6 separate regions of the Homo sapiens genome follow, and all the other regions are linked to region 1. Evidence: promoter capture Hi-C in 16 types of primary human blood cells and fetal thymus (Javierre and others, 2016). All regions are on one chromosome and are shown on one strand. The core of a region is centred on a gene start or on the middle of the fragment in contact, and the rest is flanking DNA. Distances in the headings are between cores, read along the strand shown.

Region 1 (5,234 bases), core at 1-2,500:
TTTTATTTTCCTTCCTTCCTTCCTTCCTTCCTTCCTTCCTTCCTTCCTTCCTTCCTTCCTTCCTTCCTCCCTCCCTCCCTCCCTCCCTCCCTTTCTTTCCAGATTCTGGACCTATTCCAGACTTACTAAAGGAAATTCTCTAAAGGTGAGGCAGTTTTTTAAAGACAGCAGCTCTCTCTGTCGTCCATGCTGGAGTGCAGTGGCCCGATCATAGCTCACTGCAGCCTCGACTTCTTGGGCTCAAGTGATCCTCCCCCTTCAGCCTCAATGAGTAGCTGGGACTACCGATGTGCACTACCACGCCCGGCAAACTAAAAAAATAATTATTTTTGGTAAAGACAGGGGTCTTGCGATGTTGCCCAGGCTGTTCTCAAACTCCTGGCCTCAAGTGATCCTCCTGCCTCAGCCTCCTAATGTGTTTGGATTACAGGCATGAGCCACTGAGCCCGGCCTAGCTACCCTGTCTGAGTTGTGCCCACTACACAAAGGTGTCAGCTACATGTGATGTCTGTGCATTTCTGGCCTGGACCGCACATTAAGTGCTCCGTAAACATCAGTCTCTATTATCAACAGTCTCTATTATCAATCAGTCTCTATTATCATCAGTCTCTATTATCATGAGTCTCTATTAAACAACAGTCTCTATTATCACAGTCTCTATTATGTGTTTTGGCTGAAAGAAAGTTCTCTAAAACCAGGAAATCAGGAATCAGCAGTTTTAAGTTCTCCAGGTTATATTTTAACATTGTGTTCATATGCAAAACAAAGGTTGTGAATCAGCACGAATGCTGGCAAGCCCTGGAAGGTTTGTGATCACGGACTTTCACGAGACCCCAAGGCAAGGAGAGACAGAAGCCCAGGACAACAGCATGGGCGCCGCTTTTTAGTCGGGCGCCGCTTTTTGGTCAGGCGCCACCTGGACTACATTTCCCATATCCAATTGCCGGGCTCCTGCAGGATTGGCCAGAACAACGCGGAAGTGATTACGGGTCGCCCAGCAACGGGCGGAGTCCTGGCCCGAAACTGGATGCGCACGCCCCTTCCCTGCGGCGGGGAGGCTGACAAGGCTCCGCTCTATCTCTAGCGCCTCGGAGCGCTCTCCGGCTTTGCTGTCTAGCCCGGCGGCAGCGCGATCTCTTAGGCACTTTCACCGCCTTCCTCTCCAGGCCCTGCCCCTTTGACGCCGGCCGTCGCGATATTGCGGAGACTGGATTTCAGCTTCGTGGTCGGCGGAGCGGCCCCTGGAGGGCGCAGTGCGCAGGCGTGAGCGGTCGGGCCCCGACGCGCGCGGGTCTCGTTTGGAGCGGGAGTGAGTTCCTGAGCGAGTGGACCCGGCAGCGGGCGATAGGGGGGCCAGGTGCCTCCACAGTCAGCCATGGCAGCGCTGCGCTACGCGGGGCTGGACGACACGGACAGTGAGGACGAGCTGCCTCCGGGCTGGGAGGAGAGAACCACCAAGGACGGCTGGGTTTACTACGCCAAGTAAGGGGGCCGCAGTGGGGCCGCGGACGCACCTGGGACCCTGCACAGCCCACGGACGCCACCTGCGCGGGGAGGACGCGCACTCCAGCGCAGCGCGTGCGGTGCAAAGTGAAAGTAACTGTTAAGGAGCTTCAGGGAAAAGGGTCCAGGGTTCCCAGTAGGGGCCGGCCCCCTTGGTGGGCCTCGGGTCCAGCGGGGGTCACCTGGTGGCTTCCCGGCGCGCCCTCTGCTGTTCAGGATGCAGCACTGCGCGGCGCGGCGAGGGCAAAGCGGCCTCATCCCCGCCAAAAAATAAAGATGTTTTAAAAAGCGCACATGCTCAGCTCCCTCCTGCAGGCTCTGGGTTGCAGGGATAGGAGTTTTGTTGTGTTTTGTTTTGTTTTGTCCAGACCGGTATTGCTCAGTCATCCAGGCTGGAGTGCAGGGGTGCCATCATAGCCCACTGTAGCCTCTACCTACTGGGTTCAGACAATCCTCTCATCTCAGCCTCTTGAGTGGCTGGGACTACAAGCGTGCACTACTATGCCCGACTAATTTTTTAAGTATTTGTAGAGACTAGGGTCGCACCATGTTGCCCAGGCTGGTCTCGAACTACTGGGCTCAAGCAGGCCACCTGCCTCAGCCTCCAGAATTGAGATTACAGGCGTGAGCCACTGCGCCTAGCCAGGAGTATTTTTTAGTAGCAGTCCTAGATAGCTTCACTATCATTTCCTGGGAAAGTTTTGGAAACCCCAGCAGAGCCTTCATCTTTAACTGTGTGACCTTGGGCCATTGAAATAACGTTTAATCTTGGTTTTTTCACCTGTAAAATGGGTTGATACGAGGGTCAGTTCAGGCACTGTGCGTAAAGCACATAGCACCGTGTCTAGTAGGTACTCTCTGTTCCTTAACTGTCGTTCCTTGATTGCTCTTAAGATACGACAGTGCCTCTTATATCGGCACCTTAGAATCACCTAGGAAATGTCCTAAATACACGTTTTGGGTCTCCATAGAGAACCTACTGTAGCCGACTCTCAACTTTGGGAGTCTCTTTTTTTAAGCTTTCCAGGTGAGGTGGAATATCACCTGGTTTTGAGAAACATGGATGTAAATCTGATTTTCAGCATCTGGGAAACTTTTTTTGTAAGAGCCTTTTTCTGGGCCCCACTTCCAGAGGGTTTTTCTTTTTTTTTTTTCTTTTGAGACGGAGTCTTGCTCTGTCGCCCAGGCTGGAGTGCAGCGGCGCGATCTCGGCTCACTGCAGCCTCCGCCTCCCGGGTTCACGCCATTCTCCTGCCTCAGCCTCCCGAGTAGCTGGGACTACAGGCGCCCGCCACCACGCCCGGCTAAGTTTTTGTGTTTTTAGTAGAGACGGGGTTTCACCGTGTTAGCCAGGATGGTCTCGATCTCCTGACCTCGTGATCCTCCCGCCTCGGCCTCTCAAAGTGCTGGGATTACAGGCGTGAGCTACCGCTCCCGGCCTTTTTTTTTTTTTTTTTAAAGACAGGGTCTCGCTCCGTCGCCCAAACTGGAGTGCCGTGGTGCGATCTCGGTTCACTGCAACCTCTGCATGCCGAGTTCAAGCGATTCTCGTGTCTCAGCCTCCCGAATAGCTGGGATTACAGGCGCCCGCCACCAGGCCTGGCTAATTTCGCGCTGTTGGCCCGGCTGGTCTCCAACTCCTGGCCTCAAGTGATCCGCCCACCTCGGCCCCCCAAAGTGTTGGCATTACAGACAGGAGCCACTGCGTCAGCCCAGAATTTCTGATTTAATTGGTTTGGCCCCTCCCCTCTCCCTTGGTAGGTTGTAAAATCTTCCCTCCCAGGTGATTCTAATCTATGCAAGGATGTGAACCACTGCTGCCTTTGGTGGCAAGGTAGAGGAAAAACAACCAAGTTCTGATGAGTTCATTCAAGACACACACAGGTATTATGTGACAGGCCTTTGGCTGGCACTGGTTATACCGAGGCAAATAAGAGCCAGTTGTCATCCTTAGGACCCAATCTTATTAGGGCACAGTGACATGTGTAGGAGCGTCCCCACGCAGTGTGTATACCAGGAAGTAGTGTGTCTGGCATGAGGTGTGTGTAGGTAGTTGGGGGGGTCGTGAGGGAATATGGTGGCACCCTCACAGTAACCTTCACTTCCTGGGCTCAAGCGATCCTCCCGCATCAGCCTGTTGAGTACCCGGGACCACAGGTGTGTGCCTCCACACCCAGCTAATTATTACATGTTTTGTAGAAATGGGGTCTCACCATGTTGCCCAGGCTGGTTTGAACTCCTGAACTCAAGCCAGCCTCCCTCCCGAAGCACTGGAATCACAGGCCTGAGGCACTGTGCCAAGCCCAGAGCGGTGTTTTGAGCTCAAGTAGAGGTGGGTGGGGCAGGAGGGCAGTCTAGGTAGAGGGAACAGTGAGAGGAGAGACCCCCTGCATGGCCTGTCCAGGGGCCTGTGATCTTTGTGAGGGTCCAGGAATGTGAAGGTTAAGGCAGGGAAGGGAGGACCCATTTCAAGGATTTCTGTGCCTTGCCGAGAAGCTTGGGCTCTGTTGGCAGAGCCAGAGAGTGGCATTCATTCAGCTTGTGAATTCTGGAAGAATTTCTGGCTCTGGAGAATTAAAGGGACATTTCCAGCAGCAGAGCTCCAGTAGCCTTTGCAGGGACGGAGGCAAGCTCCTGAGCGGGCACTTGCTGTTCCTCTCACCTGTACATCTGTTGGGGAAAGGCTCCTTCTCATCCTTCAGAGCTGAGCTTACATGTCACTGCCCAAGAGACCTTCTTAACTGTGGGTGTCCCCTCGACCTTGTACTAGTCACCTTGTTTCTCTGCTTCTTCGTGCTTAGCCTTGGCTGTGTACTCCTCCTTGTTGGCCCTGTCTCCCTTGCCCAGGTTGCAGATGTCATGGGGCAGCTTGTTCATCTGAGTGTCCCCAGTGCTTGGCACCCAGAAGCCATAAGATGAGCCCCTGTGGGATGAGTAAATGAATCACCTTGGGAGGGTCAGCCGCAGGCTTCTGTGGGTGGGTGGGTGGTGCACTGGGCCCCAGAGTACAAAGATGCACATGACCCGCTTCCGGCTTCCTAAGCCCACCTCTGCCTCTGGCTCTGTGGGGCGTCTCCTCCTTTGCCACTCAGCCCCAGAGGTGCTTCTGCTTCCCTGCAGGCTTGCCCTGGAGCCTGGCGCTAGGGCCCTGGGGCTCCCTTGCTCCTGCGTGCCCCCTGCGCCTGCCTTCCTGCTGCCTGGCCTTTCTCCCATCTGCTTTCTTCCTGAGTGGCCCCTGGCCAGGGGACTCGGGTGCATACATGGTTTCCAAACGCCTTTCCTCCAGCCCTCCCGACTAGTGTCTTAAATCTCAAGCTGGCCTCTCTGGCTCCGCTGTTTTTTTTTTTTTTTTTTTTTTAATTTAATTTAACTTTAAATTCCGGGATACATGTGCAGGATGTGCAGGTTTGTTACATAAGTAAACCTGTGCCATGGTGACTTGCTGCACTTGTCAACCCATCACCTAGTTGTTCAGCCCCCCGTGCATTAGCTATTTATTGTATACACCAGCTGAGATGCCAGGGCTTGGCTGGCTCTCAGCTGGAGGGCTCACTCTCTGGACCTTGTGTCCGTCCCTGCTGGCCCTCAGTTCTCTGGATCAGGGTTGAAAGGCTGAAATTCTTTGGGTGTTAGCTTAGGATGCCTCTGATCCATCCTAACCCGACATTCCCTTGATCTCTCCTGATCTGTGAGCATCCTGGCCCTTCTTTTCTTTTCAGTTTTAATTTTTG
Region 2 (5,234 bases), core at 830-3,329, 1.8 Mb after region 1:
TTCAAACCTTATTGGAGAGCCAACGTATTTCTCTTAAATTTTGATAATCTTTGTTGTGAACCAGCACAGGAAAAAAGCTAGATATTATATAAAGCTAAATGGAGCACATTCGCTTAACTTGAAGGAAGGAAGGTGCCATAGAGAGTCAGGGGACTGTGTTTACATACAGAGTCCGTAATAGGGTATCTGAGCCTCTTTGACTGGCCCTAAATTTCCAGTGTCAATTTCCCGAGGCCTTATATACACACAGAAGGTACAAACGTGTTCATCTATGACTAAAAGTATCTGCATTTTATTACAGAATACAGTTCAGCCTTCTAGGAAGGTTAAACAAGCAGGTGAGAAGTGAGGTTTGGAAAACGGTCAAGACAGCTGCAAGTCAACAAAGATACCAACTTGAAGTGTCAAAAGTTAAAAAGAACCCTTTATGGATATTCAATTCATCTATTAAAGAAATGTATATGCACAACCTGCTATGTGGAGAGGATGTATCCTATGCTCAAAGGCCTAGGGTCATATTCTGGCTTTCTTTTCCAACTGTGTAATCCTAGGCCTGTTACTGAAGCTTTCCGAATCTCCCACCACCCCCATCTGTTAAATGTGAATGATAATGCCCTCGATAGGAGATGATTGTGTAGGTTAAATGAGATATGTAATGGACCTACTATGGTAACTATCACATGGCAGTCACTCAATAAATGGCTATTGCTGCATTACTAGTGTAGAGATCATTACTCTAGTAATGATATTATCATTCAAGTTAAGCAAATTGATAATAGTTCTTATCCCTCAAAAACTTAGCCATGACACAGCCTTCTGGGTTATAGGAAATTCTTCATCTAGCCAGTGAAGCTAAGGGCATTTAACTGCAAGCGTTCCTCATTCTCCACTCAAGAGTCTTATCTGACCACTTCAGGGAATGTCAGCCGTGCCAGTGTCTTAACACCCTGGGACCATCCATGATAGGTGGGAGTTGGTGGATAAATACCTTCCAGCTTCTTTGCTCCCTGGGTCAGTAACTCTGAAGTGTGTTCAACTCAGTGTCACAGAGATCCCATTATGACTAAGCCACAATTCCTCACATAAAAATCCTACACTTCCATGCATGCACCCTAGTATAGCTTCCATGCTTCCTTCCGCATTAAACTTGCCCATCTCCCTTCCAGTGCCTCTGAGAACACATCCCAAAGAAGCCATTTGCACTCGAATCCTTGTCTCTAGGTCTACTCCTGCGTGAATCTGACCGAAGACACTTGTGCTAAGTATAGATCTCATCCTGGAACTATCAGCCTAGAGTTACCATGTGAGAATCAACTGGATCTCAAATCAGCACGGGCAGTTCAGTATGTTACTTTGTGACTTCAGGGCTGTATTCACATTTGAAAGTGGTTTGTTTTCTCTGCTTAATGCATTGAATATATATGGCTTGCTTTTTCCTGGTCACAGAGGCTTCTCCTTGGTCTCAGTTTAGCTACTCTGGAAGATGTGTGATTATTTCTTGGAGCCCACACCCTTAGCACCCAAATATCTATTTGACGTGTACACCACATCCTATAGTTTAAGTAAAACCATCTCAGAATCTTACCTTCCAAACTCAGTGAAAACCTATCCAGCCAATTCACATAGTATAGTAGCAGATAATGTTACTAATAGAAATATAAAGCATCCATTTGAAGCTCTTTTCTTTATTCACGGAGCATGTAGGGGATACAAACAATTTTCCAAATGTTTTTCCCTTGCATAAACCCTATGAAGAAGAAACAAAATAATGACCCAGAAAAACTGAACAAAGGTAATCAGTTTCATAATTTAAGATATGTTAGTTTAATGGTGCACAAATTAGAACTATTTGACGCATCAAGACTGACAGTTTCTCTAATGTCATTGCTAAAGAAATGCATTTTCAATGACCTCACAGTTTTTGTATTAAAATAATTATTGCTCTTTGCATGTATAATTGTGATCTGGGCAATTAGAACGTAATCCCTCCCTTGGCCTCTTTCTTCTGGGCTAGGTAACACAACAAAGCAGTAGTCACAGTTAAAGAAATGCACAGCAACAGCAAATTGACATGGCACCTCGATTTTAGTCAACATTAGGGAATGAAAAATGCGTCTTGAATTAGTATCGTAAGACCTTGCTTTATGCAGTAACCGTCATGGTGTGACCTGAACTAAGTAATGTAACCTCTGCTACCTCTGCTCTCAACTTCAACAGGGAGGAAGACTGACTTCACAGAACCGTCATGAGTTTCAATGAGACAAAATAGGAATAGCAACTATGTCAACTATGTACACACTAGATACAAGTCAGTTAATGTTTTTATTATCTCAGCTGATATTTATAATTGCTCTTTGAGCTAAGAAAGGCAGATTTATGCTTACTCTTCACAGATGAGAAACTGAGAATTAGAAAGGTTAATTTATTTTGACTAGTAAATGTCAGAGATCAGACTTGAACCCTGGACCCTTCAGTTCGAGATGAATCTTCTCTCTTCTACAACAGTGCTCTTGGAGCTTTTCTGAGCGCTAGAATGCTGCACGAGCTTGTTAAAAAAAGCAGATTTCCACTGCTCCTTCCCCAACTCTCACTCCAAAGATTCTGACTCTGTGGTTCTGAGATTCGTTTTAGGAATCTGCATTTTCAATAAACACTTCAGAGAATTCTAATGCAGAAAATCCATGCGTAGAACACATTTTTAGAACACTTAGCTGTTATGACACATTGTCTATCAGGATTATGTTAAATGGTGGCAAGCCTTTAGAATTAAAGAAACTTTCTATTGACTGGTATCAGGAAACTTGATAATTTTTATTACTGATAATAATGATAGTACTATTACTTGAGTTCTTATTAGGTGCCAGCCCCTGTGTTAAGTGTTTGATGTGCATTATTTAAGTGGATCCTTATGACGTCCAGGTGGCCCCTGGAATTGTACAACCCCACAAGGTACTATTACCCTCCCTATTTGATATTGAAGCATCAGATCTCAAAGAGGTTAAATCAATTTCCAGTGACTTCCTAATAAACAGCAAACAAAGGAATTGAACCCCAATTTTCTAAACTTCATACCCATATAATTAGTCATTCTCTTCTGTAGGGAACAAATAAATGAGGGAGGGGAAATAATTCTGTGTGAATTGAGTGTCTCACGCTGACAAAGTCACACCGTAGTTGAACAAATTCAGAGAGCTATGGCTTAACCCTACATGCATTATTTAACCTGGTTTATTCCAATAGTGACCCTTTCATTGTCAGAGGTTCAGCTCTGTGGTATCAGATCCCAGGAATAGAATGGGGTATTAGTTTTCAATTGCTCATTAACAAACTACTCCAAATACGGCCGTTTAAAACAACAAACATGTATTATCTCACACAGTTTCTGAGGGTAAGGAATTCAGTTTAGCTGGATGTTGCTAGCTCAGGACCTCTCAAGAGATCCACTCAAGCTGTTGGCTGGAGCTGCGGTCATCTGAAGGCTTGAGGAGGGCTGGCGTATCTGTTTCCAAGATAGGGAGAAACCCTATACATGTAATCTATCTTGAAGATCTCTCTAACTTGAAGATCAGGAAGGAGATCTGAGAACTTTCATGGAAGCTTTAGCTCTTGAATTGACACGAGGTTGGAGACAGCAGAGCGCTTTTCTCAGGTATAGAGAGGACAATGCTCAGGGCTTACCATACTTCATAGAGGTAGAAATAAGAGATAGGAGCTGAACTGCCTTGGTAGTAGAATGCTTGTAGCTGATAGTTACCAAGGGAGGGATAGTCAGTCAATGTAGGACTGAATCTAGGTTCACCATTCACAAGGTTTATGAACTTGGAAGTATCTCTTAACATCTGGAAGATTCAATTTCCTCTTCTGTAACATGGGGACAGTCCTGGCACCTACTTACCTCAAAACTGTAGTTTGAGGATTTCTTTGAGCTACAGCATGTAAAGTTTTGAGGTTAATGCCTGGGGCATAGTAAGTGCTAAGCTAACATAATGGATAATATAGCCTTCGTGCCTCTATTTCCAACCCTTAAGGGGACATTAAGTCCTTGGTTAAAGACCAAGGACTTTATCTTTTTATTTAAGAATCTTGGATTGGTTCAAAGTTTAAAAACAAAGGAAAACACACAAACAGCAGTATTATTTTTAAAATATTGTTAAATAAGGACAATAGAGTCCCAGTTCCTCCTGGAGAACTTGGAAAACATAAAAAAAAACACAAAATACAAAATGGAGAAGGCAACCTCAAAATAGCGGGGCCTTCCTATCTCTGATACTGTTATGTGGATCTGACACTACGCTGTCAACATATGTTTCCTAGACGTCGTTTGAAATGGCTCAATGGAAACTAATGAGATGAATGAATCTCATGTTTTCCTCTGTCTTAAAAATACGCCTGCTCTCAGCAATGGGGTTTTCAAGACCAAGAGATGACTTTAAGTAATTTCGAACAATTTTGTCTTATGTAATCCAAAATACACATACTTGCAAATATGAGTTAAGCTCATTTTATATGTAAAAATTCCCATAGCTGAATCAAAACATGACCTCTTTCATTCTTCTTTCCAGTGTCTGGTACAACCAACTAAAAATTCTCCCTACCTTTGCAAACCAACCATGTTCTCATGGGAGGGCATCTTGAGTGAGCCAAGGAACCCTCTATCTAAGTCCTGAGAATTCACTAGTAACAGCAAGCTCTTGTTAGATGTCACTCTTTTTGAGGGAAAAGAAAGTGACCTTCAGGCATTGGGGATCCCAGTCTCGAGGAATTCCTACTGGTGGAAGAGACTCAGTGTGCCCAAATAGGAAGCTTTGGATTTGGCATAACCAGAGCTTTTCTGCATGAACTTTTATCACTTACTCCTTTTGTGGGAACAGTCTTAACAGTCTGCTCCGCCTGTTAGCAACTTATTTAGTTCCTAAGCCACAATGTGGCACTTAATGCGCTTGGCTCCCTTTTGCATTACTACAATTAGTTGTAGGTTTGACTGTCTCTTCCAGACTGTAAACACCTTGAGGGCAGAGCCTGGGTATATGAGGTTTCTCTATCTTACTCAGTCTGTAGAACTGGACTGGATTAGCCTTGGATAAGCAGCACAGACAGAGGCTGTCAAGAGAATAGGCTCCAACTCCTAGAGAGTGAAATCCCTTAAAAGAAAGCAAGAAAGTGAGGAAGTGGAGGAAGAAGAGAAAAAAGACAGGGAGGAATAAAAATCATTTGTTGCACTCTGTGGCTTTTTC
Region 3 (5,234 bases), core at 1,355-3,854, 1.7 Mb after region 1:
GCCTAGACCCCTGGGATGCAGTTGGACCTCAATTAATGTTTCTGTAGCATTCAATTCACCAAGAGGCTTGTTTTCAGCTGAGGCCTGAGTTTGCACCCAGGAGACACTGGGCCATGCATGGAGACATTTTTGTTTGTCACCCCATTTTTGTTTGCCAAGTGTTTTTGGCATCTAGTGGGTCGAGGCCAGGGGTGCTGCTCAATATCCTACAATGCATGAGACGGACCCCACCACGAATAATTATGTAGCCCCAAATAGCAGCAGTGCCAAGGTTGAGAAATGAAACTATGAAGTGACTGAAAGGTCTACCCTCCCTTAACGTGGACTTTGGGAAAATTCCCTGACCTCTTCTGGCCTTTGCTTTCTCATCCTGTCAATGGGAGCTTTGCACTTGCTGGTCATGGGGACCCACCCAGGTGCATCATTACCAGCTTCTGGAATGTTGCTCCTCCCACTGCTGGTGCGGGCTCCTGTAGCCACCGTGGAGGGTATAAGCATCAGAAATGGCAGCCCCTTGCTGCCTGTGATCTGTGTCTTTTGCCTTCCTGAGGTGGGAGGGTTCAGAAAGCCCAACCCATCCCCACCCTTCCAGGACATTCTTTCTTGGCCCTGCGCTGGCATGGCTGTCGGGATCGACAGTCCCTCACCCGAGGGCCTTGCATGAATCCAGACACACCTTGGCTCCATTGCCCGAGGCCTGGCAGTGGATCAAAGAGCTCTGGTTGGAACATTTGGCAGCAGGAGGGAGATCAGCAAAATGGTCCTGCACTGGGTGCAGCATAAGCACAGCCTCCCAGGTAGCTGCTGTCTGTGGCCTCTGCAGCTTCTCTCTCTGTCAGAGCCTGGCCTTCTCTGGACCCTTCTCCCGGGACACTAGCACCTCTCCTCCCACGCTTCTGTGTCCACCCTCCCCCCTATATCCCTAGATCCTGGTGATGTAGAATTGTGAATGGATCTCAGTACACCACAGGAGTGTGCAGTGTGACCTGTGCATAGTCCAACTTCTCTGCTTCCTTCCCTGAAGGAAAAATAACAGCCGCAACAGCTCCCGTTGTAACCAGCACCTGGGTGTCAGGCTCTGAGCTGTGTACTTCACGTGCATTGTCTCATCTCATCCTCACCGCAACCCTCTAAAGTAGATTCCATTATTATTCCCATGTTGCAGTCATTTAATAACTATGTGTTAGGCAACCATTTAAGCCCTTTATATCATGTGAGTTTTCATTTGCTCATTTGGTCCTCACAGCATCTCTGTGGGATAAGTACTAGTCTCACTTCCATTTTACAACCAGGAAAACGGAGGTACAAATAAGTGAGTGTGTAATGGATCTGAGATTCAGACCTAGATCATCTGCTTCCAGAGTCAAAGCCCTTAATCACTGTGCATACTGTCTCCAGAATAAACAAAAGCAGATTCAGAGAGGTTAATCAACTTGCCCAAGATCACAAAGTCAAGATATGTTAGAAAGACTAGTAGGACCCAGGTCAGTCTGTCTAGAGCCTATTTATTTTCCCACAGTACTACTTGATGTGTGTGTGTGTGTGTGTGTGTGTGTGTGTGTGTGTGTGTAGTTCATCTCTTTCTTTATATATTTATTTTTTGAGATAGAAGTGACTTTAAAAACACATGTGCCTATCTACGATAATTTCATTAATCATAACTAAATAAAACAAACTGATAGGAACAATTCATGGTTGACTCTACAATATGTGGACTACTATAAGAACTGGAAATTAACTAATGTCCTTGATTGTCCTTAACAGATTTAATGAGGAAGGCTAATTACATGAAAATACTCTTATTTCCAGTTTTAGAAACTCGTCAAAGCAGGGAGGGCTTCCATTCTGATGAATAGATTGAAGCTCAGAAAATGTAAGGACCAAGGACCTGAACTAAGACAAGTCCTCACTGAGTTTCGTCTAACCCAGAGGCTGTGTTCTATAGGTTAGCTGATCCTGCCTATTGCGCGGATCCTGAAATATGAGACAAAGCTTCGAGCTAGGGTACAGAGGTGTCCGGGAGCAGGTAGCCCAGGCAGAAGAAAGAACAAATGATGACAGGTGGTATCACCTCTCAGCTGGCCCCAAATCCCTGTCTGGTAAGGTCTGGAAGCTTTCACAGTGCTGCATTCTTCACTGAGGCTCACAGGGCTTAATGTAATTGCAAAATATCCTAAAAAACAACATTTTATCATTTTCCTCCAGAGCTTCTCGCCTTGTAAATAGCGTGTTGGCACATGTTGAAGCCCAGCCACACAGCTCTGTCTCCGGCTTCTGCAAAGTGGCGTGAGGCCTGCTGTTGGTGTGCAGGGGAGTGCAGGCCAACCACGCCCCAGGAATGGGAAACCTCCTTTCGCTCCCAGGAGAGGCTGTGGCAGAGCCAGAGCTAGACTGTGCCTTTACAAGGCATTTGCTTCTTATGAACCTGCTCCAAAATCACTGATGAGCTCACAGAAGAGAAGCCATAAATCAGCAGGCTGGGGCTGGGTCCTTTGCTCACAGTAGGCAGAGGATGCAGTGTGGACCTCCCTCCAAAGGCCCTTTCACCACCAACTTATCCTGCCTTCCCACCTTCCCGCTGGTCCTGCAGCAGCCCAGCTCCCCAGCTCCTGGAGGCCTGGCGGCTGTCTGCCATTCACACGGTTGAGCTGCCCCAGACCTGCCCGTGTGGGCCCCACCTTGCCACTCCCACTTGTCTGCTCCCAGGACAGCAATTGTGCAAGAAGCCCCACACGTGAGCGGGCATCAGGGCGACAGCCAAAGAGCCTCTCTGTGGTGATGCTGGGGCGGAGAGGCTACCTGGCAGCCACTGGAGCGCAGTGACATGGGCATGAAACCTGAGCACCTAGCTCATCAGATGACAGAAAGCCTCGGGTGAGAAGAGACCTCCGTGGGATGCAGTGATGCCACATTAGAGGCCTGCTAGGTACCCAGAAGAGTCACTTTATGTGGATATAGACCCTGAGCACGACTGCACCCACTTGGTCAGCTGTCCAGGCCATGGTCCCTCTGAGGCAAGTCTCAACTTTTCTCCACGTGCCAAAAGAAAACCGTATCTGACAGCTGAAGAAATGGAAAGTGGTGTAGCTTTGACTGAAGCTTTCCTGGGGAAACGGAAGAGGGGGTTACATCAAACCCCACAGGGTTTCTGGAAGTCTCTTGTAAACATCCTTGACCCCACTCCTCCTACAGCTGCTGCTTCCTCCCTTTGGTGTACCCCAACCACCTCGTCTGCAGTCTCTCCTTTCACCTGGTTCTGTGTCCCTCTCAGCTGCCCCTCAAAAACCCTTCAACTTCCACATCTCACTCTGCAAAGCGAGAGTGGTGACGCTTGGCAACATAGAAGTCTAGTTAGCAAACTACAGATCAAAAGCAAGTCTGGGAAGCCTTATGCCACCCATTAATATAACCTTTGTTTTTTAACTTGTTAATTTAAAAAGTATTTTATGTTTTACTCAAACAAAAAGTGATAGACCCCCATATACTGGCCAATCTGATCTGACCGATGTTAACATTTTCCCCTGTCTTTTCTGTGGATGTACCATTCTTTTTTTTTTTTTTTCTTTTTTTTTTTTTGACACGGAGTCTCACTGTGTCACTCAGGCTGGAGTGCAGTGGCGCGATCTCGGCTCACTGCAAGCTCCGCCTCCTGGGTTCACGCCATTCTCCTGCCTCAGCCTCCCGAGTAGCTGGATATCCCATTCTTTCTCTCTCTCCCTGATCCTCTTCTCTTTCTCTCTCTAAAATATATTATATAGAAGGTAAAGCCCCAAAGACCATTTCTATTTTATTTTCTCCACGTCTAGAAACATCCCTTTCCATGTTTGGTGTCGTTTGGTCTGAATCCAGGATGGCACCGTGTTTATGAGCACAGACTTGGAAGCCAGCCTGGCTCTCAGCTCCAACTCTGTAACAACTAGCTGAGTAACCTGGAAGAAGTTGCTTAACTTTGCTCTGTCTCAGTCAAATAAAAAAGGGGATAGTAAATCAACTGTATGTGCAATCATCAAATGTTGATACATTTAAAGTGTCTGGAGCAGAGCCTGGAAAAAAATAAATGCTTAATATTTATTAACTGTTATTATGATCCATGAAAAATAAATAGAATGGCTATTTGGTGTGTTTTTAAGTTTCATCTAAATTATTTCATGGCATTACACCTACACACCTACACACCTACACACACACACACACACACACACACACACACTTTGCGACTTGCTCTTCTCACGCATTTACATTATGTTCAGGTCTCTCTATTTGGATGCATGTAATGCATTCATTTTTCTTGCCATAGAGTGGAATATTATTGTTGTTTTAATTTACATTTCCCTGATTACTTATTCTAAAATTTACTTGGAAAAGTAAAGAGCCCAAGCAATTTTAAAGAGGAGAAAGAAAGAAAGGAGACTTGCTCTATTATAATGATACTAAGACTTATACATTTAAGCAGTGCTGTCCAACAGAGCTTTCTACAATCATGGAGATGGTCTCTAGCTATGCTACTCTAATATGGTAGCCTTGGGTCACATGTGGCTACTGAGCACTTGAAATATAGCTAGACTGACTGAGGAAGTTAATTTTTACTTTAATTGAACTTAAATAGCTACATGTCATTGTGACCCATGTGGTGACCCATCACCAGACAGCACAGGTTTAGAGTATCAAAACATTGTGATGAAGTCGCAGAGACCAGCAGTAGACCACAGAAACAGCAGCGAGTCTAGAGACAGACCTCAGTGTTTGGTGTTAAGTCCTAGAAGGCATTGTAAGACAACAAGGAAAATGGTGGGAATATTTTTATCCAATGTTTGGGTTTTCTATTCTTTGAATTTCATTTGTCATTGAACTACTCCCTCTTCCTCCTCCCATTGTTTAGTGTGTCTTTTATTTATTAATATGTCAGAACGACTTGTATATTTGGATATAATATAAAAATTATATTTATCTTAGTTTGTGGATTTTTGTTTTATTTCTTCTAAAAAGAAAAGGGATACATGTGCAGAACATGCAGGTTTGTTACATAGTTATCCATGTGCCATGGTGGTTTGCTGCACCTATTGACCTGTCCTCTAAGTTCCCTCCCCTCATCCCCTACCTCCCAACAAGCTCCGGTGTGTGTTGTATCCCTGTCTGTTTCCATGTTCTCATTGTTCAACTCCCACTTATGAATGAGAACATGTGGTATTTGGTTTTCTTTCCATATGTTAGTTTGCTAAGGATGATGGTTTTCA
Region 4 (5,234 bases), core at 1,485-3,984, 1.7 Mb after region 1:
AAGGAAGGAGTAGGAAAGGATGATACCGGGGACCCAAGGACGCAGTTTTCTGTTTCTTCCTATCACCACATAATTTTGGGGTAGGGTTGGCCGTGAATCAGAAGCATCTGTTGAATGGGTTTTTCATGAACTGTGCTTTTATTTTCTCTTCTCAGAAGAACATCCTAGCACATCCGAAGACCATGACTTTAAAGCTGCTTTATTTTATTCCCTCCTAAAAGCTGAATTTGTGGAAACTTCTGAGTGAACACTCATCTCCTTCTTCCCTTGTTTGATGAGTTGTTGGTCAGTCTTCAAAGAGCCCATCTTCCTTGAAAGTATGATATGCCTCTGTCACTAGTTTGATCTGGAGAATTGCAACCACTGGGCATGAAGCTTAGATGTACCTTGAACTTGAAATGATCTCAAAAAATTCCAAGATTGGTGTGTAAACTACTATCACCCCTGTGGGGTTATTATGTTGACTTGTTTTAATTTTATAAAACTCCTCAGAGATGGGGAAGGAAATCATCCTTCACCTTCTATTGCTGAAAAGCATGCTGCAGGAAAAAAATGATGATTCTTGCCAAAGATGCTAGGGACAAAATTTCTCCTTGGAAACCCTGAGAAGCAGAAGTCCTTTCTCTTTCTGGGCAATCTCAAGGTAGCGTGAGTTGTAAATACAAACTGGTTTTAACTGTCCTCCTGAGTGGCCTTGCAACCCATGACCAGAACTGGTCAAAGATTTTTATTTCACCCAACCACAGGGAGGAACATGAAGGCACGGTCACTAGGTGTTTAATCAGCAGGTGAATTCAAGCCTTTAATTCTTTGTATACTGCAGTCAATAGAAAGTTATTGCTTAATTAACCCCTTTGATGAATACCTGATAATTAATAAACCCATAAAGTATACCCTAAGGCTTTAAGTTGAAGAAGGCTCCCCTCTTCAAGTGGAAAAGAGAAGAAGAAGAAAAAAAAAACATGCTGAACTAATGGGAAAAAATTCCAGTAGAAGGCAAAGCAATTAGGATTAGTGAATTCCATTTCATTTAAAGGTGCAAGATAGAGGAGCCATTTATCTAACAAATTAATAATGGGAGTGACTTGCCTAATATAGTAACAAGTCCTTATATTTTATTAGTGGAAATCCAAACCAAGTAATTTAATGATAGACAAGTTTCCATATATGTAATTTTTTAAGGCTTTTTAAAAAAATTGTCACCATACTCAGATAGTTTTAGATTTATGCATTGCCTCTAAATTAGTCCCCACTTCAGTTTGGAATGATACTTTTAATATTATGGCTTTGTAGAAAAATCAATATTTTTTTAGTGTTTTCTTTCATTTTAAAGAGCTTCGTCATCTGGCTAATTGTGTCACCATAAAAAAAAAATAGAAGAGTTGAGGAGGTGGTTCATATTTCGCAAGTATCATTAAATTTGCCGTGTGTTACAAATGGGGTCTACTGGGGGCTGTTGAATGCTGGAGCTGTGGGGCAGAGCAGAAGGGAAGGTATTAATGTAGGGCTGCTAAAGAAATCTCTCGTTCTAAATTGAGAGAAAATATGAAATATATCCTGAAAAGTGTTTGCAGTAGCAATAGCATGACAGAGATCCACTGTGGTCTTGAGTTCTCATGGAGCCTCTGGGGTTTGCTTGATACCCAAGGCAGGTGAGGAGGCCCTGAGACTTCTACCCCTCTGATCTTCTTCCCAGATAAGGAGGAATTTATTAATCATCCAGCAGATATTTACTGTGCCTCTGCTGTATGTCAGATATTTGATGCTAGTCCTTGCCTTACCTGCAAACCAATGGGGGAGCAACTACAATAGCCTCACATGGCCTCTGCTCTCAAAGTTTGCCTCTGCATTAAATTCCTAGAGAAGAATATGCTTCAGTATGGGGAAGGGCAAGAGCACTAGTCGAGGGACATATAGTTCAAAAAAATCAAAGATTTTGGAGAAAAGCACAATGGCACCCAAGTTCTATCGGCCATGACCTTGCACAGGGCTGAGCCTCAGCTTCTGTAACCTGCAAAACAGGTATTTTCCACATAGACTAGTTATTGTGCTGTACATTAAATATGTGGTATATGGTGAACGCTTTGAAGTCCTGGAGAATAAAATGAGACTGCAGTGAAAATGTATTTTGAAACTCAAAAAAATACAGTATCAATTTAAGATACTAATAATTTTAGCAAATGGTGGGACAAATATATTGCTTGGAAGGCAGTTGAGATATATTTATTTATTTGCTAGCTACTCTATTTTGATGCCTCTTTCTTTTAATTTTGCCCAATGACTAATAGCCTTTTTGAATTGCTTCTTTTCCACTTTCACTTTCTTTACATATGTAAAATCTTAGAGGGATCCCAAAGTGTTTAAATACCACCAGCACCAACAGTAATAATAACAGCTCAGCAGCACTAAGACTAAATACCATATCAGGCACCCTGTATAGATCTTTCTAAAATAGTTCTGACAACCCTAAAAGAGCAATATTATTTAGCCCATTTTAGAGATAAAGAAACTAAGGCTCCGTCTTTCTGATATAATCTATTACAAAGACTTTTATTAGCAATAGCGAATATTTGTAGAGTATTTATGACTATATGACAGGCGGTTGACATTTTCATCCTGTTTATTTCTCATTTAATCATTCAACAAATATTTACTGAATGCTGGGTATTCATAGTGGCCCAATCAGTATAGACTGGTCAACAGGAGAGAACTCATAAGCCCAGTCAGGAGATAGTATAGAACAACACTATGAGGTAGGTGCTTTTGTTATCTCTAGTTTATGTCCAAGAAAAGTGAAGATATGATTCGAATCCAGATACTTCACTTTTAACCATGACACCATATTGCCTCTGAGAAAAGTGCTTGGGATCAAGAGAATTGAGACACTGGGGATAGTATGGTTGAGATGAACCATCCTCCTCTGAGTCTATAAGAGAATTGGGCCTAGATAGTCAGTGTGACTACAGAGCATTCCTTGCCTTCTCAGGAGGGGGACCAAGGCTCTAAGGCAGCAGCCCTAGTTCCTCCATTTGCCACTAATTACCATGTAATCTTGGTAAGCCCCTCAGTTTTGCTGTGCTTCCCTCATCAGCCAAATGGGGATAGCCACGCCTGACTTAGAAGAAGTCCTGGAGAATAAAATGAGATTGTAGTGAAAATGTGTTTTCAAAGTCAAAAAACACAGTATTGATCTAAGATACTAGTAATTATAGCAAATGATGGGAGAAATATATTGCTTGGAAGGCAGCTGAGATGCATTTATTTATTTGCTGTTACTCTGTTTTGATGCATCTCTTTTTGGATTTTGCCCATGACTATTGATGACACATATATAAAAGAAAAATGCTCATTGAAATGGAAAATGGAGACTTTAAACATGAAAGTTCAAGATAGATCAGATTGATTTTTTTCATTTTTTTTTTTTTTTTTTTTTTTTGCCTATTTCTGTTAGCAATAACTGGTCTTGTACTGCTAAGTATCTAGTTGAAAATACCTTAGCAGACACATTCTGCCTCTACCTAATAAATGAGACTGCCTATATAGACTGTCTGATAGTTGTACAAAGGAATCAAATGCATATATCTTACCATACACAGGTACTCAAAGATCAATTGTATTCAATAATATAATGGATGTGTTTTTCATCTTTAAAATTCCTGCAAGAGTAGTTATTCTTCACAGATTGAATTAGCAAAGTAGGAACAGATGAAGTCAATTGTCAATTGTTCAAATGCAGGTACATATTATATAGACAGATCGAAACCTTGGGGGCTGCTAATGTGAGAAGATAAATCCCTCCTCATAAAACGAGTATTAGTAGCAATCTGCACCAATGCCTTTAATTTCTCATATCCTTGTAAATCTTCAGAGCTCGAATGAGGTGCTTACTTCCTATTACTTTATTCAGATCAGAAGGTTTAGAATAACCCTAAAAATATCTTTTTATTTTTTCAAACCTGCTTCATTTCATCCTCAAAAACACTGTAGCATCAACATTAAACAGAGCTAGTTAACAGGGGTTTTAAGAAAATTAAAGGTGTGGCCAAGTCTAGACATCCCAAAATAAGTGGATGGGGGATACAGGCTTTTGGTCCAGTTATTTCGGCCACCTTCTTAATGGACAATTTGGATCACTGCACAGTCAATCCGCTTAATTGCATCTGTGTTGGCCATTAAAACAAATTGAATGCGCTATGGCCAATTTGGTCATGTCATAAAGAAATGGCCAGTAGGGCCCACGGAGATGCAGAATTTCAGCCATTATTCGATTATATCTGATCAGTGGAGACAGCTTGTATAGGGAATCCAGGAGCTAAAGTAGATCACACAGGAGCCCCCAGCCTACTTTGCCGACCATGTTATTAGGATCCACTGTCGACAGCAACAAAATTGGCCAGGTGGTTGACAAAGCATCACTTTACTTTGTCCTGAGGAGAGAAAAGTCAGTGCCCCATGACTTTGCCTAAAATATCCCGTCAGCAAACCAACAGGTCGTCTTTTCCACTTTGAGTCCTGAGTAATTTGAGAAGTAGAGAAAAAAAATCTGAAATGTCCACTGTCGATGACCTCTAGTGTTGGTGTAAAAATAGACCTTAAGCTGCATCCTTTGTGATTAATGCTGGGTAAAGGTAATTTAAGAGGGGCCTAAGTTTCTTATTTTTTCAGATCTCGACTCCATGTACTTTACCTTTCCCTGCACCTCTGCTTGTCTGAGAGGTCTCAAGATCATCATTTGGGACCTCCATTTCTGCTGGGTCTGTCATCTTAGATCGCCTTGATCTTGAGCATCTTTGTGAAGTTGAACAGGGGAATGGCCTTATTATGGGTATTTCTGGATTATACTCTATATATTTAAGCCATAACATAAGGAATAACTGTGGGCCATATTTACTAAACATTTGATATATGTTAGGTGCTATCTGGCATTTTAAGTATATTGTCTTATCTAATCCTCATCTGACCCTGTGAGGTAGGTTCTGGTGTGTTTACTGCGTGGATGAGGGAGCTGACACTTAAAATTGTAATTACTTGTCAAGGTCAAGGTCATTCAACAGGATCAGAATCAAGACATAACCCCTGGTCCCTCTGGGTCCAAAGCTTGTAGTCTCAAATACCGTATCATCCTAAGCACCATTGATGATGACTCATTTCAGGCCGGCTTAAGGGATAAGCTTTCACCAATTTGTTCTTATAAATATTTACTGTTTTCAAACCATGTGTTAGGCATTGTGGGA
Region 5 (5,234 bases), core at 1,788-4,287, 1.7 Mb after region 1:
AATCAGAAACATTGATGGAGGCTTTACTGTATGCACTAGGTATTGACAATATGAGAATAAAGTATCTACCGCAACATGTGAAGATAGTAATATAGAGACAACACATACTAATGCACTTGAAAATGTACTTTGCTTGGCTGGGCGCAGTGGCTCACGTCTGTAATCCCAGCACTTTGGGAGGCTAAGGCGGGTGGATCACGAGGTCAGGAGTTCAAGACCAGCCTGGCCAAGATAGCGAAACCACGTCTCTACTAAAAATACAAAAATTAGTCAGGCGTGGTAGCGGGCACCTATAATTCCAGCTACTCAGAGGGCTGAGGCAGGAGAATTGCTTGAACCTGGGAGGCGGACATTGCAGTGAGCTGAGATCGTGCCACTGCACTCCACCCTGGGCGACAGAGTGAGACTCCATCTCAAAAAAAAAAAAAAAAAGGAAAAAAAAGAAAAAAATGTACTTTGCTCTTCGGTAACTTTGATTTTAGGTAACAAGTATAAAAATTACATACAATGGCACTGGTCGTACCTGTGTGCTGGCTGTATACTGACTATTTTTAGACCTATTCCTTGGGAAAACTGAATCCTGAAAACTATATTTCCCCCATTCCTTTAGGAACTGGCTCCTGATTGGCTTTAGCCAATGGGAACCACTGGTTGCAGTGGGAATGTGAGAGAAAGAGAGTAGTCAGGATATTTTTCCTTTTCTTGTTATGCTCTGATCAGCATCTCCAGCAAATGCTTGTCTCTCCTCCAGAATTCCAGCTCCACCCAGAAAGCCTCTATCATCCAAGCTGCTGCCACACAGCTCTGGCTTTTGAGTTTTGAGGAAGACACATCCTTTTGTCTCTCCAGCCCTAGGAGAATCTAGCTGCTGCAAATCTGTGGGTTGCTTCCTCATACCCTTTAATGTCTTTGTACCTTATGATATGGTTTCCCATATTGAATGTTTGCCATTGAGCTCCTAGGCTTTGATTCTTCTTCTGGCTGGAACATAACTAATCTAGAATATCTAGAACATTCCAAACAGCAATACACATGTAGGAGTGAAATGTCAGTGTGCTGTTATCTAACTGGCTGGTGCCTTTTCAGTTTGTTTCCTGCTGGCCTGAAAAACATTCTGAAAATTGCATGGACCCATACGTATTGTTCCACTCAAGCTTTCTGGGTGTAAGTTTTCTGATAATATTGTCGGCATATGTATGAGTGATCCTTGATATAAACAAAAAATAAATCAACTGAGGGATATACAGTCTGAAGGTTGGAGGTAGCTGAGAAAAAGCTTTCCAGATGACTCTGAACTTAGGTGGGGAGAAGCTTGTTGAAACCAAAAAGAGATGGCAAATCTCAGTAGAGTAATTGGCTTCTCTCTCAGATCACCCCCACGGGCTTTATCTAGCTGGGGTATTTTTTTCTTCCTGTATAAAACAGGCTGTTTTGCTCCCAAGTCACATGGAAGCTTGGTAAGATGCTTGGATTTCACGTTCCCTTGTTCACCAGACTTGTTATATTTGAGAGAGAATTTGGTCTTGTCCTTGAGGACCTTGCTATAGAAGACATGAGGCCTGGCTTTTCTGGAACTTCCAGACAAGTTGCACAAAGGCAGTAATGACTCCCAGGTTGAAAGGATAGGAGGCTGCAGGTCTCAGTGCTGGGTGCCCAGGACACACACAGACACACAGTCTACTGTGCTCAAAGAAACAGTAAGGTGAAATCAATCAAGGCTTCATGGTGAAGACTTGAGTTTGTCAGATGCTAGCAGGAGTGAGACAGACTCAAACTTGGCCAAGAAAATTAGCAATGGGCGTACCTCATAAAACATTTAAGTTCAGGCTCATCTCAATTAAGCCTCCCAGAGCCTCAGGTGTTTGTCCAAAGCTTACCTGGGCCTGAACTCCTGGAACCAAGTAAGTTTGCTGGGGCCGGCAAGAACATGCTTCCCCATGAGAAACTTGGCAATAAGAACCCCCTCTCCTCATTCTCATACCCAGTCTAAAAAGAACCATGTGAAAACTATGAAAAGCAGGTTTCAAACATTTCTAAGCTATGAAAAATTTGGATTTAATTTTAACCAGCTATATCCAAGTCTGATGTAAAAACTCAAAAGTTATCTCTCTGTCCCAGGTGAAGCTGTTACTTCTACAATATGGAATCATAATCTCTCCTTTAGACAAACAATCAGTGATGGGCATTGCCTAAAATGTTGTCCTCTCTTTCCTGAACTCTGGGCTGAAAACTGGATTGGTGTAAGCTAGATTTGGGGGTCACATCCGGTCAAATGAAGTTAGTTTCCTCTTACTTCCTATAGTCATTAAAAGTCTTTATCTAATATTTTAATAACAATGATAATGACAATAATTATTGACATTAATGGAACCCTTACTCTATGCTGGGCATCACGCTAAGCATTTTACAAGTGATTATCTCGTTTCATCCTACACTTTGGGTGGGTACTGTGATTATCTACCTACATGGTAGAGACAAGAGAAACAGGTTCTGGGAAGCTACATTACTTGTCTGAATTCTCTCAGTTATTAAATGGCAGGAATTAAACTTGGGTCTGTGGTTCCAGAGCTCATGCTTCTAAGCACTTCGCTGGGTGAATCTCTGTTGAGATACTTTTCATGAGAAGGAACAAAGCTATCTAAATAAATTATTCTGTTAATAAGATAATGGGCATGAAAATGCTGCGAGAACTGCAAAGTCTCATAAAGGTTAAGAATTAATTATTACAAGGAAATTCTATAGCGTGGGAGGAACACCAGAAAAGGGAAAGCAGAAAGAATATTGATCATGAAATTAAAAGACCCGTATCTCAGAAGCATATCAGTGTAATGATTATGAATTTATAAAACTTAAGTATTCAAGGCCTGCAAGGAAGAAATATGGTGAAACAGAGAAAAACATTAATTTGTGGGGAGCTATGAAAATGAAGATAAATCTTTTCTTTCTTTGATTCTGATTTCAGTGAGATCATTTGTACAAATCTTGAAACCAAAGCACAGCCTGTATGAACCCATGTTGAACCCTGGACTTTCAGGACTACTGTATGGCTAACCACAGCCCTGCAAGGCCAGGCTCAGCATGTCACAGTTTTGCCACTGAACAAGAATCTTTCGAAGGATCGCAAATACTACATGGAAAATGACTGTATTCTTTCTGCAAGGCCACTCTCTTAGACATCACCCTAACAAAAACAATTACGGGTTGGAAGAGGAGAAAGGATGCAAAGTTTGTGCCTTGACCTAAAAAAGGTCATGAGCACCTCTACCGGTTCTTGGAAACATTAGTTGCAGTGGATCTCAAATTCTATTGCGCAAAAGAACGACCTGGTGACCCTCTAAAAGTGTAGATTCTCTGGTTTCACCCCTAGACCTTGTGACTCACATGTCCAGTGAGGCCAGGAACTCCTCACTGTTAACCTGTGCCCTATTTTAACAAGCCCTGCTGGGAGTCGGGATGTTGGGGGTCCCCACACCACACTGAAATAGAGGAATTCCCTGCTCAAAGATCCCGTTATGTCCTGATTACAATCTGCAATGAGATTATGAAATCATTAAATCATGATTAAGCCAATGTGGAGATTGATATGTGTTGTATGAAGCTATTACTGATTGGGTTTGTTCTTAGAAAACTAGACTTTCAGAACAGTGGCCAGGGTGAATTTGGGGCAGGACCCTATACCCAGCCCTGTGCGAGAACTTTTATCTATAGTCTCATTTCATACTTAAAATAACTTAGGGAGATTAGTGTTACTTTGCAGGTGAGGGAACTAAGGATTAGGACAGCAGTTAAAATACCTTCAGTGAGGTCACATGGCTAAGAAGTACTGAAATCAGGATTCTAAATCAACATATATATTTGACCCTTTTCAGTATACCATGCAACATCTAAACTCCTGCCTTCAAGCAAAACGTGTCACGGGTCGATTGTGATTGGAGCAACAGTCATTCAGGGGAGAACTTGGACATTGTGGATGAATTGACTAAATTCTCATTGCCTCAGTCAGCCCTTGGTACCTACTGGTCTTACGTTGGGAATTTATATCCTAAGGACTTAGTCTTTTTCCTAGTGGAATCGCAGGGTTCAGAGCTTCTACTCTGGGGTCATCGATCCTATCTTTCTACTGCTGGGGTAGCCTCTTACTCTACTTCCCCATTTGGGACTGAAACTAATGGCTGTCATTAAGCAGCCCCCATGACAAAGGATAAGCTTAATATATCCTGTATCCTGGTCTCGATTTGTCATAGTTATAAAAATGGGGAAAGCTTAGCCTTCCTGCAATTACAATTATTCTTCTAAAATATTTTAAGAATATTTAATTTTTATGATGACAAAAAGAGCAAAGAGTGAAATATAGCAAATAAACCACTAAGTACATAGTATGTCAAGTGGTGAACATTGGTGTGGAGAGGAATAAGCAGGGCAAGAAAGATAAGGAGCGGAGAAAAACTAATGTGTATTTAATATATATATTAGTTATGCACACATACTTATCAATCTATATTAATATGTAGATACTTTAGAAAACATTGAACACCGTTTAAAAATATTACCCCTAGTTCTGCTACATACAGATAAACACTGTTAACAGTTTGGCCTATTTCCTTTTGGGTTTTTTTTTCCCTATATTAAATTGGGATTATATCCAATTCGCTTTCATAAGGTAAGCTGCATTTTTTACTTAGCATGTCATAATCATTATTCCATGTCATTAACATTGCTTTGAAAACATAATTTTATATTTAAAGGTTTGCTAAGTACCATTGTAGGAAGGCACTGAAATTGATTAAGTAATTTCCTCTGTTGTGGGACATTTAGATTATTTGTCATTTTTTCACCCACATAAATATCCCACGGATGTACTTTCTTACGTATAAATCTTTATGTGTATATCTAAACATTTTCTTGGAATAAATCTGTGTTTTTGAGTCTGTTCCCCCAGGCTCTTGATGTATGTTGCCAAATTACCCCCCAGAAACAGGGTGAAAACTCCACAATTCAGTGATCTTGCCACTCCAGGGCTAGTAGATGCTTTTACAAGCTCTCTAAAGAGTTCTGTTCTGTGCTTTCATTGAACTGATCCAATCTGGTCTAGTTCTCCCAGGTCCACGAATACTTACGTGCCACTTTCCAGTGTGATGCTCTGAAATGACCCTTCCCATCCACACCCTGGAGTGGAATATCTCTTCCCACAGGGGTGCCTTTCTCAGATTCTGGAGGGGCAACCTTAGTCCCTT
Region 6 (5,234 bases), core at 1,599-4,098, 1.2 Mb after region 1:
GTGCCTGTGTATCTAAATCTCTCTTTTTTAATTTTGATTTTTATTGTTTTTTGAGTCCGGTCTCACTCTGTGCCCCAGGCTGGAGAGCAGTGGTGCAATCATGGCTCACTGTAACCTCAAACTACTGGGTTCAAGCGATCCTCCTGCCTCAGCCTCCCAAAATGCTCCTTAGGCAGACGCCAGTAATTGAATCTAGGACACGTGCAGTTCGGTGTAACCTCATCTTAACCTGATTACATCTGCAAAGACCGCATTTCCAAAGGAATTCGCATACAGGGGTACCAGGAGCTAGGACCTCAGTATGACTTTTGGGGGGTGCCCATTCCACCCACAAAAGTTTCTAATCATGTTTGACATTTATGGAGCTATGACTTTGTTACAGGACTGTAGCAGGCACTTTGCAATGCCTGGGTCAACCCATATGGAATTGCTGCATCTGTAGGCTATAAATTGTTGAATATCACCAATTTCATATGCTAAACTTCATATTATCTCATTTACCTCTCTAAGATTAGTACTATTATTACTATTATTATCTCATTTAACTCTCTGAGATTAGTACTATTAGTACTATTGTATCTGCTAACAGAGGAGAAAAAGAGCCACCTACATTTGTCAGGGAGATGAAGTAGTGGATGGCTTTAGGAATTGTACAGACACTAGTCAAACTATCCCTTCCTCTCTATGTGACCAGGAGGGAGTTACCTAATCCCCCTGAGCTTCTATGTGTCTGTTTATAAAATTTGAGACAACTTTTCTGTAATAACGCCTGTGTGTATAAATACGACAATTGCCCAAGCCAATAATTTGGAAGTGAGGAGAAGCATCTCACAAGGTGTCTGGTCTTTAGGAGGCATTATATCTGTGCCTCCTAAAGTGTGATCTGGGGAACACTACACTTGGGAATTGGCTGGGAGTTGACTGGGGGTGGGGCACATCTGTTAAGAATGCAGGTTCCTAGGATCTGCCCAGCGCTACTAATTTGACATCTCTCTAAGGGAAGGCCTGGAAAAGTGCATTTTAATTGGTGCCCCTGGGGTAATGCCTGCGATTGCAAACATTATAAAACTGTACTAAGTGAATACAAGTTTGCTTCTTTCCTTTCAACAGGACACAGCTGTCTAATTAGGACTAGATTGAGTCGTCCAGGTACCTGCCCCCTGCAAGTTCAGAGACAGTCTCGGGAAATGGGAGACCAGCTGACAGCCATCCTTTGCCCAAAAAGGGCAGGTTAGATGGCAACCGTTCAAGGGGAAAGTGAATCTTTAGCAAAATCTTTAGTTGCATGTTCCTGACTTTTCCATTACTTGGATGAAAATAAATACCATGCTTAAAAACTACAGGTTTAAAAATCAATGCCATCTTTCTTCTGGAAGCGAAATCCCTGTGACTTGCCAGGACAGAGAGGAAAAAGAAACAAACAAGGTCTCTTCCCAAGATTTTTGTTTTCCCTCCTGCAAATCCTCCGGCTTGCTTTTCCATCAACTTGTTCTCTCACCTAAGAACCATTTTCTCTCTTGTGTACAGAACGAAGAGGCCCTTGACTTTCAAAGTGAGCTTTTGGAAGGAAGATGCCTGCTTGAAGTATTGCTTTTTCCGTGTCTGTGTCTGAAAGCGCAAGAGCTGTTTCTAGCCTCCTTGAGTGCCGGGTTTGGGGTTTCGTGGGTAGAAGGCACTAGCAGTTTCAGAAACCAAGCCTTGCTCTCGGTGTGATTTGCGTAGTCAGGAAGCCTGTCGAGCTACCCAAACAGGGACCCGCCCTGACAGGGGGACAGGAGATGGCTCCCTGCCTTCCTGCCTGCTGGCCCCCAAGTGTCTGCCCCTTCTGCTGACACTGGATCTTCGGGGCAAAGGCACAGCCTACTGAACACGTCTATTAATGTGAAAGTAGGTGGTGTACCAGGTTCCTGGGGAATGGGGCCATGGAAAAGTTGTAGGCTGGAGGAGGAGGAATTCAGAATTTGGAAACTTGCTATACCCCTCAAATATATGTATACAGGATACAGCATGCTTCCTATTTTCTGGGGGAATATGCTAAAGATTCTGAATATATTTTATCATTCAATTCTCACCTCCAGCTGCTCCGGAGGTAGCCCTGTCATCAACATTTTATAGACAGGAACCAGTGGCTTCAGGAATCAGATGACTTCTCTAAGGTCACGCACATAGGAAATGGTAGAATGCTGCTTCTTCCCTCTCCACCCCCTCATTCTCACCCCGATCCATGCATGTGGGGTCCTAGTCAGCTCTCCATTGTTTCTGGCTGGGTCACTGTGACCTCCTTGAGCTTCACTGTCCTCTTTTGGAAAGTGGGAATGACAGCAATACCAGCCTAGGGTGAAGAGAAAATGGGGCTGAAAGTTACAAGGAGGTTTCACTTCTATTAAGGGACACGTAAAGGTTAGTGGCTCTGAGTTTCATTCTGTTCCATGAACGCACACTCCATGGACTTGCTTTCTGAGTAGCTGTGGGGAATGGGACCTGGGGAAGAGGCTGAAGCGGGGAGCACAGGCCAGGACAGAACAGAGATGCCCACTGCAGGTGGATCCTGGGCTGCAGGATGACGAAGCTGGAGAGAGGGACATTCAAGCACTGACCCCTCACCCCTGCAAGTGGCTCAGATCTGACTGTACTAAAGTGTGAACCCCCAGAGGGCAAGGACCGTGGCCAGTTCCTCTCCTAATGGCATATGTTGCCTCGCGCAGGGGTTCTCTTACACTTTGACCTCCAAGCCTGGGATTCATTCGAGCAGAGCTGCTGCTGCTTCTTTTTTTTTCTTTTATATATTTTTTTAACAACCTGCTTATTGTTTTTAAAATAACTCTCCCAGAGCTTTGGCAGAGCACTAGATGATTTGGGGAAAGTCCAGCCTATTCTTCATAAAAAGGCAATCTAAATTACACTGATTTGGAAAATGTTATAAATACGGGGCTTGCCCGGGACACAGTTTGTGGGCAATGGAAGTGTTCTCGATGCTTTGATGTGAAGCATGGTTTCTGCTGCCCCTGTCACAGGCTCCAAAGCAGAGTGATTCTTCTGATGATGATGTGAGGCCACAGCAGGTAAGGAAACAGGAAGACCATCAGCTCGATAAGCTGCCCTATTAACCAGAAGTGATTTTCAGCTCTCTTTAAGAAGGGAAAAAATTACATTTAGGAAAATCCAGAAAAGGTTAAGCCAGTTGCACGTGTTGGTTAACCGGGCTTGCAGCAGAAGTCACTCTATAATTGGGACTTTTTTGATAAATCCAGTTTTGTGTAAATGCCGGGAGAAGAGAGGTCTGGGGCAGACTCACCTCAACATTTGTGGGGACTGGATCAAGAGTCCAGCTGCAGTCTAAGTTTTGAAAAGGGCAAATCCAACTAAGAAACTATTAAAACATAACCTCTATCCTCCTATTTTGGCAAATACATGTTCGCAACTATTTGAAGGCCAGGTTCAAATTTAAAAGTTTTAGAACCCCTGGGATTCTGCAACAAAACCTGTATGCACAGGCCAGCTTGGGGGGCCACCACCTAAACTCATTCTTCCACCATGAGGGATCACTTGCATATGTGTCTTTTGAGTTTCCTAGGGCTGCTTGAAGCAAGGACCAAGAACTGGAAGGCTTAAAATAGATATTTCTTCTCTCTGGGGTGCTGCAGTGCTATTCACACTCCAGGGCCCCTGTGGGCTCAGGGTGATGCTAGACTTCAGCTGAACCCACATCTCCATCCACTGTCTTGTCCAGCCCCTGCATTACTAGCTCCTATCCTGGCTTCCCTGTCACTACACTGCTCACCAGGAATCACTCTCTCCCATTGTACTCCTCAGGAACTGCACCTAAGACAGCGTGGGAACATTTTAAAGGACTCTGATGCGGATTCCTTATTGAGTATGAATTGACTCTGAAGATTTAGTTTCCCTCTTCCTTGATCCATTGTCAAAGCAGTCTAGTGATTGCCACCCCCGACCCTGAGAAAGGAGTGTCTCCCAGATCAGAATGGGAGGGGAAGAAGCAAAGATAAAGGCAGGTGAAAAAGCAGCAAGAGACAGGGAGAAAAAGAGACAGAAGGAAAAAGAGCAGAGAGGAAGAGGAAGAAGAGACGAAGACAAATAGAGGATGAATGATTATCCAGAGGCTACCAGAGGGAAGAAGTAGAAGATAGGAGGTTGGACGGAAGATGTGCACATACCTTTTCTTGTTTTTGCACATACATTTAACCAATAGTTTCAATATGAAAAAAAAAAAAAGGACATGGAGGGTAATGAGCAAAGGGTATTAGGTAAATGCTCCAGCTAATCCCAAAGTCTAGGGGGATGATCGTGAAAGATGAAAGAAAGCCTCTAAAAAGAGTTAGAAAATACAATCTATGGTTTAATAAAAGAAGTCAGAGGTCATAACAAATAAAAAAGAGAGCCATAGGGTACTTAATACCAAATATTTAAGGTGAGCCTTGCTTTAAGCAAGTGAGCTGTATTCCTGAAAAAAGGTTTGTAATTCAGTTGTTTGTATATGAAATCCCATCTCAAGCACCTTGAGAAAGCTCACTCTTTGAAGACTTTTTTTTTTTTTTTTTTTTTGAGAGGGAGTCTTGCTCTGTCGCCAGGCTGGAGTGCAGTGGCGCCATCTCGGCTCACTGCAACCTCCGCCTCCCAGGTTCAAGCGATTCTCCTTCTTCAGCCTCCTCAGTAGCTGGGACTACAGGTGCACCACCACGCCTAGCTAATTTTTGTCTTTTTAGTAGAGACGGGGTTTGACCATGTTGGCCAGGATGGTCTCCATCTCTTGACCTTGTGATCTGCCTGCCTCAGCCTCCTAAAGTGCTCATCGGAAAATCCATTACAATCCTTTACGCCTACAGCACACACTCTCCCCTAAACTCCTGTATTAATTGTAGAACCCTGCATTTCTGTGTGTGGCTAGCAAGGACCACAATGAGGATACTGATCTGCAATCTCACCCCAGGATAGTTTGATATGGAACAATCCAACAGGAGTCCTGGTGTCTGGGTCTTGAAGGTAAGAGTTAAAAAAGGCCGGGTGCAGTGGCTCATGCCTGTAATACCATCACTATGGGAGGCCGAGGCTGTTGGATCACGAGGTCAGGAGTTCGAGACCAGCCTGGACAAGATGGTGAAACCCCGTCTCTACTAAAAATACAAAAATTAGCCTAGTGCCATGAGTTCTAGAAATGCCAATTAGGAAGCCAAAAGTCTGTCTAAACTGGGGACACCCGTGGTTTCAAAGTGGAA

What was found. Contacts are between HindIII fragments. The CHiCAGO score rates a contact against its expected background, and 5 or more counts as called.
Region 2: a contact is called between a fragment that was not itself captured here and the fragment with the promoter of WWOX in region 1, in 1 of 17 cell types (fetal thymus). The highest score is 5.1, in fetal thymus.
Region 3: a contact is called between a fragment that was not itself captured here and the fragment with the promoter of WWOX in region 1, in 1 of 17 cell types (fetal thymus). The highest score is 8.8, in fetal thymus.
Region 4: a contact is called between a fragment that was not itself captured here and the fragment with the promoter of WWOX in region 1, in 3 of 17 cell types (fetal thymus, activated CD4 T cells and naive B cells). The highest score is 6.6, in fetal thymus.
Region 5: a contact is called between a fragment that was not itself captured here and the fragment with the promoter of WWOX in region 1, in 6 of 17 cell types (fetal thymus, monocytes, non-activated CD4 T cells and 3 more). The highest score is 10.1, in fetal thymus.
Region 6: a contact is called between a fragment that was not itself captured here and the fragment with the promoter of WWOX in region 1, in 1 of 17 cell types (naive CD4 T cells). The highest score is 7.7, in naive CD4 T cells.

The regions. Positions count from the first base shown.
Region 1 is chr16:78,098,404-78,103,637 of GRCh38, forward strand. WWOX (WW domain containing oxidoreductase) reads left to right here and starts at 1,251. Exons shown (of 9, transcript NM_016373.4): 1 at 1,251-1,482. The coding sequence starts at 1,376. RefSeq lists an enhancer at 1,485-1,984. The HindIII fragment of the contact is 3,217 bases long and covers 1-2,520 here.
Region 2 is chr16:79,864,010-79,869,243 of GRCh38, forward strand. No RefSeq gene overlaps it. Among named protein-coding and RNA genes, the nearest start is that of LINC01228, 39 kb to the left of the region's middle. The HindIII fragment of the contact is 3,032 bases long and covers 564-3,595 here.
Region 3 is chr16:79,846,631-79,851,864 of GRCh38, forward strand. No RefSeq gene overlaps it. Among named protein-coding and RNA genes, the nearest start is that of LINC01228, 22 kb to the left of the region's middle. The HindIII fragment of the contact is 986 bases long and covers 2,112-3,097 here.
Region 4 is chr16:79,778,987-79,784,220 of GRCh38, forward strand. All of the region lies in intron 1 of LINC01229 (long intergenic non-protein coding RNA 1229), which reads left to right. Among named protein-coding and RNA genes, the nearest start is that of MAFTRR, 11 kb to the left of the region's middle. The HindIII fragment of the contact is 4,722 bases long and covers 374-5,095 here.
Region 5 is chr16:79,759,364-79,764,597 of GRCh38, forward strand. The region is part of intron 2 of MAFTRR (MAF transcriptional regulator RNA); the gene reads right to left. Among named protein-coding and RNA genes, the nearest start is that of LINC01229, 8.5 kb to the right of the region's middle. The HindIII fragment of the contact is 2,334 bases long and covers 1,871-4,204 here.
Region 6 is chr16:79,277,005-79,282,238 of GRCh38, forward strand. It overlaps a transcript of MAF not described here. Among named protein-coding and RNA genes, the nearest start is that of MAF, 320 kb to the right of the region's middle. The HindIII fragment of the contact is 6,240 bases long and covers 1-5,234 here.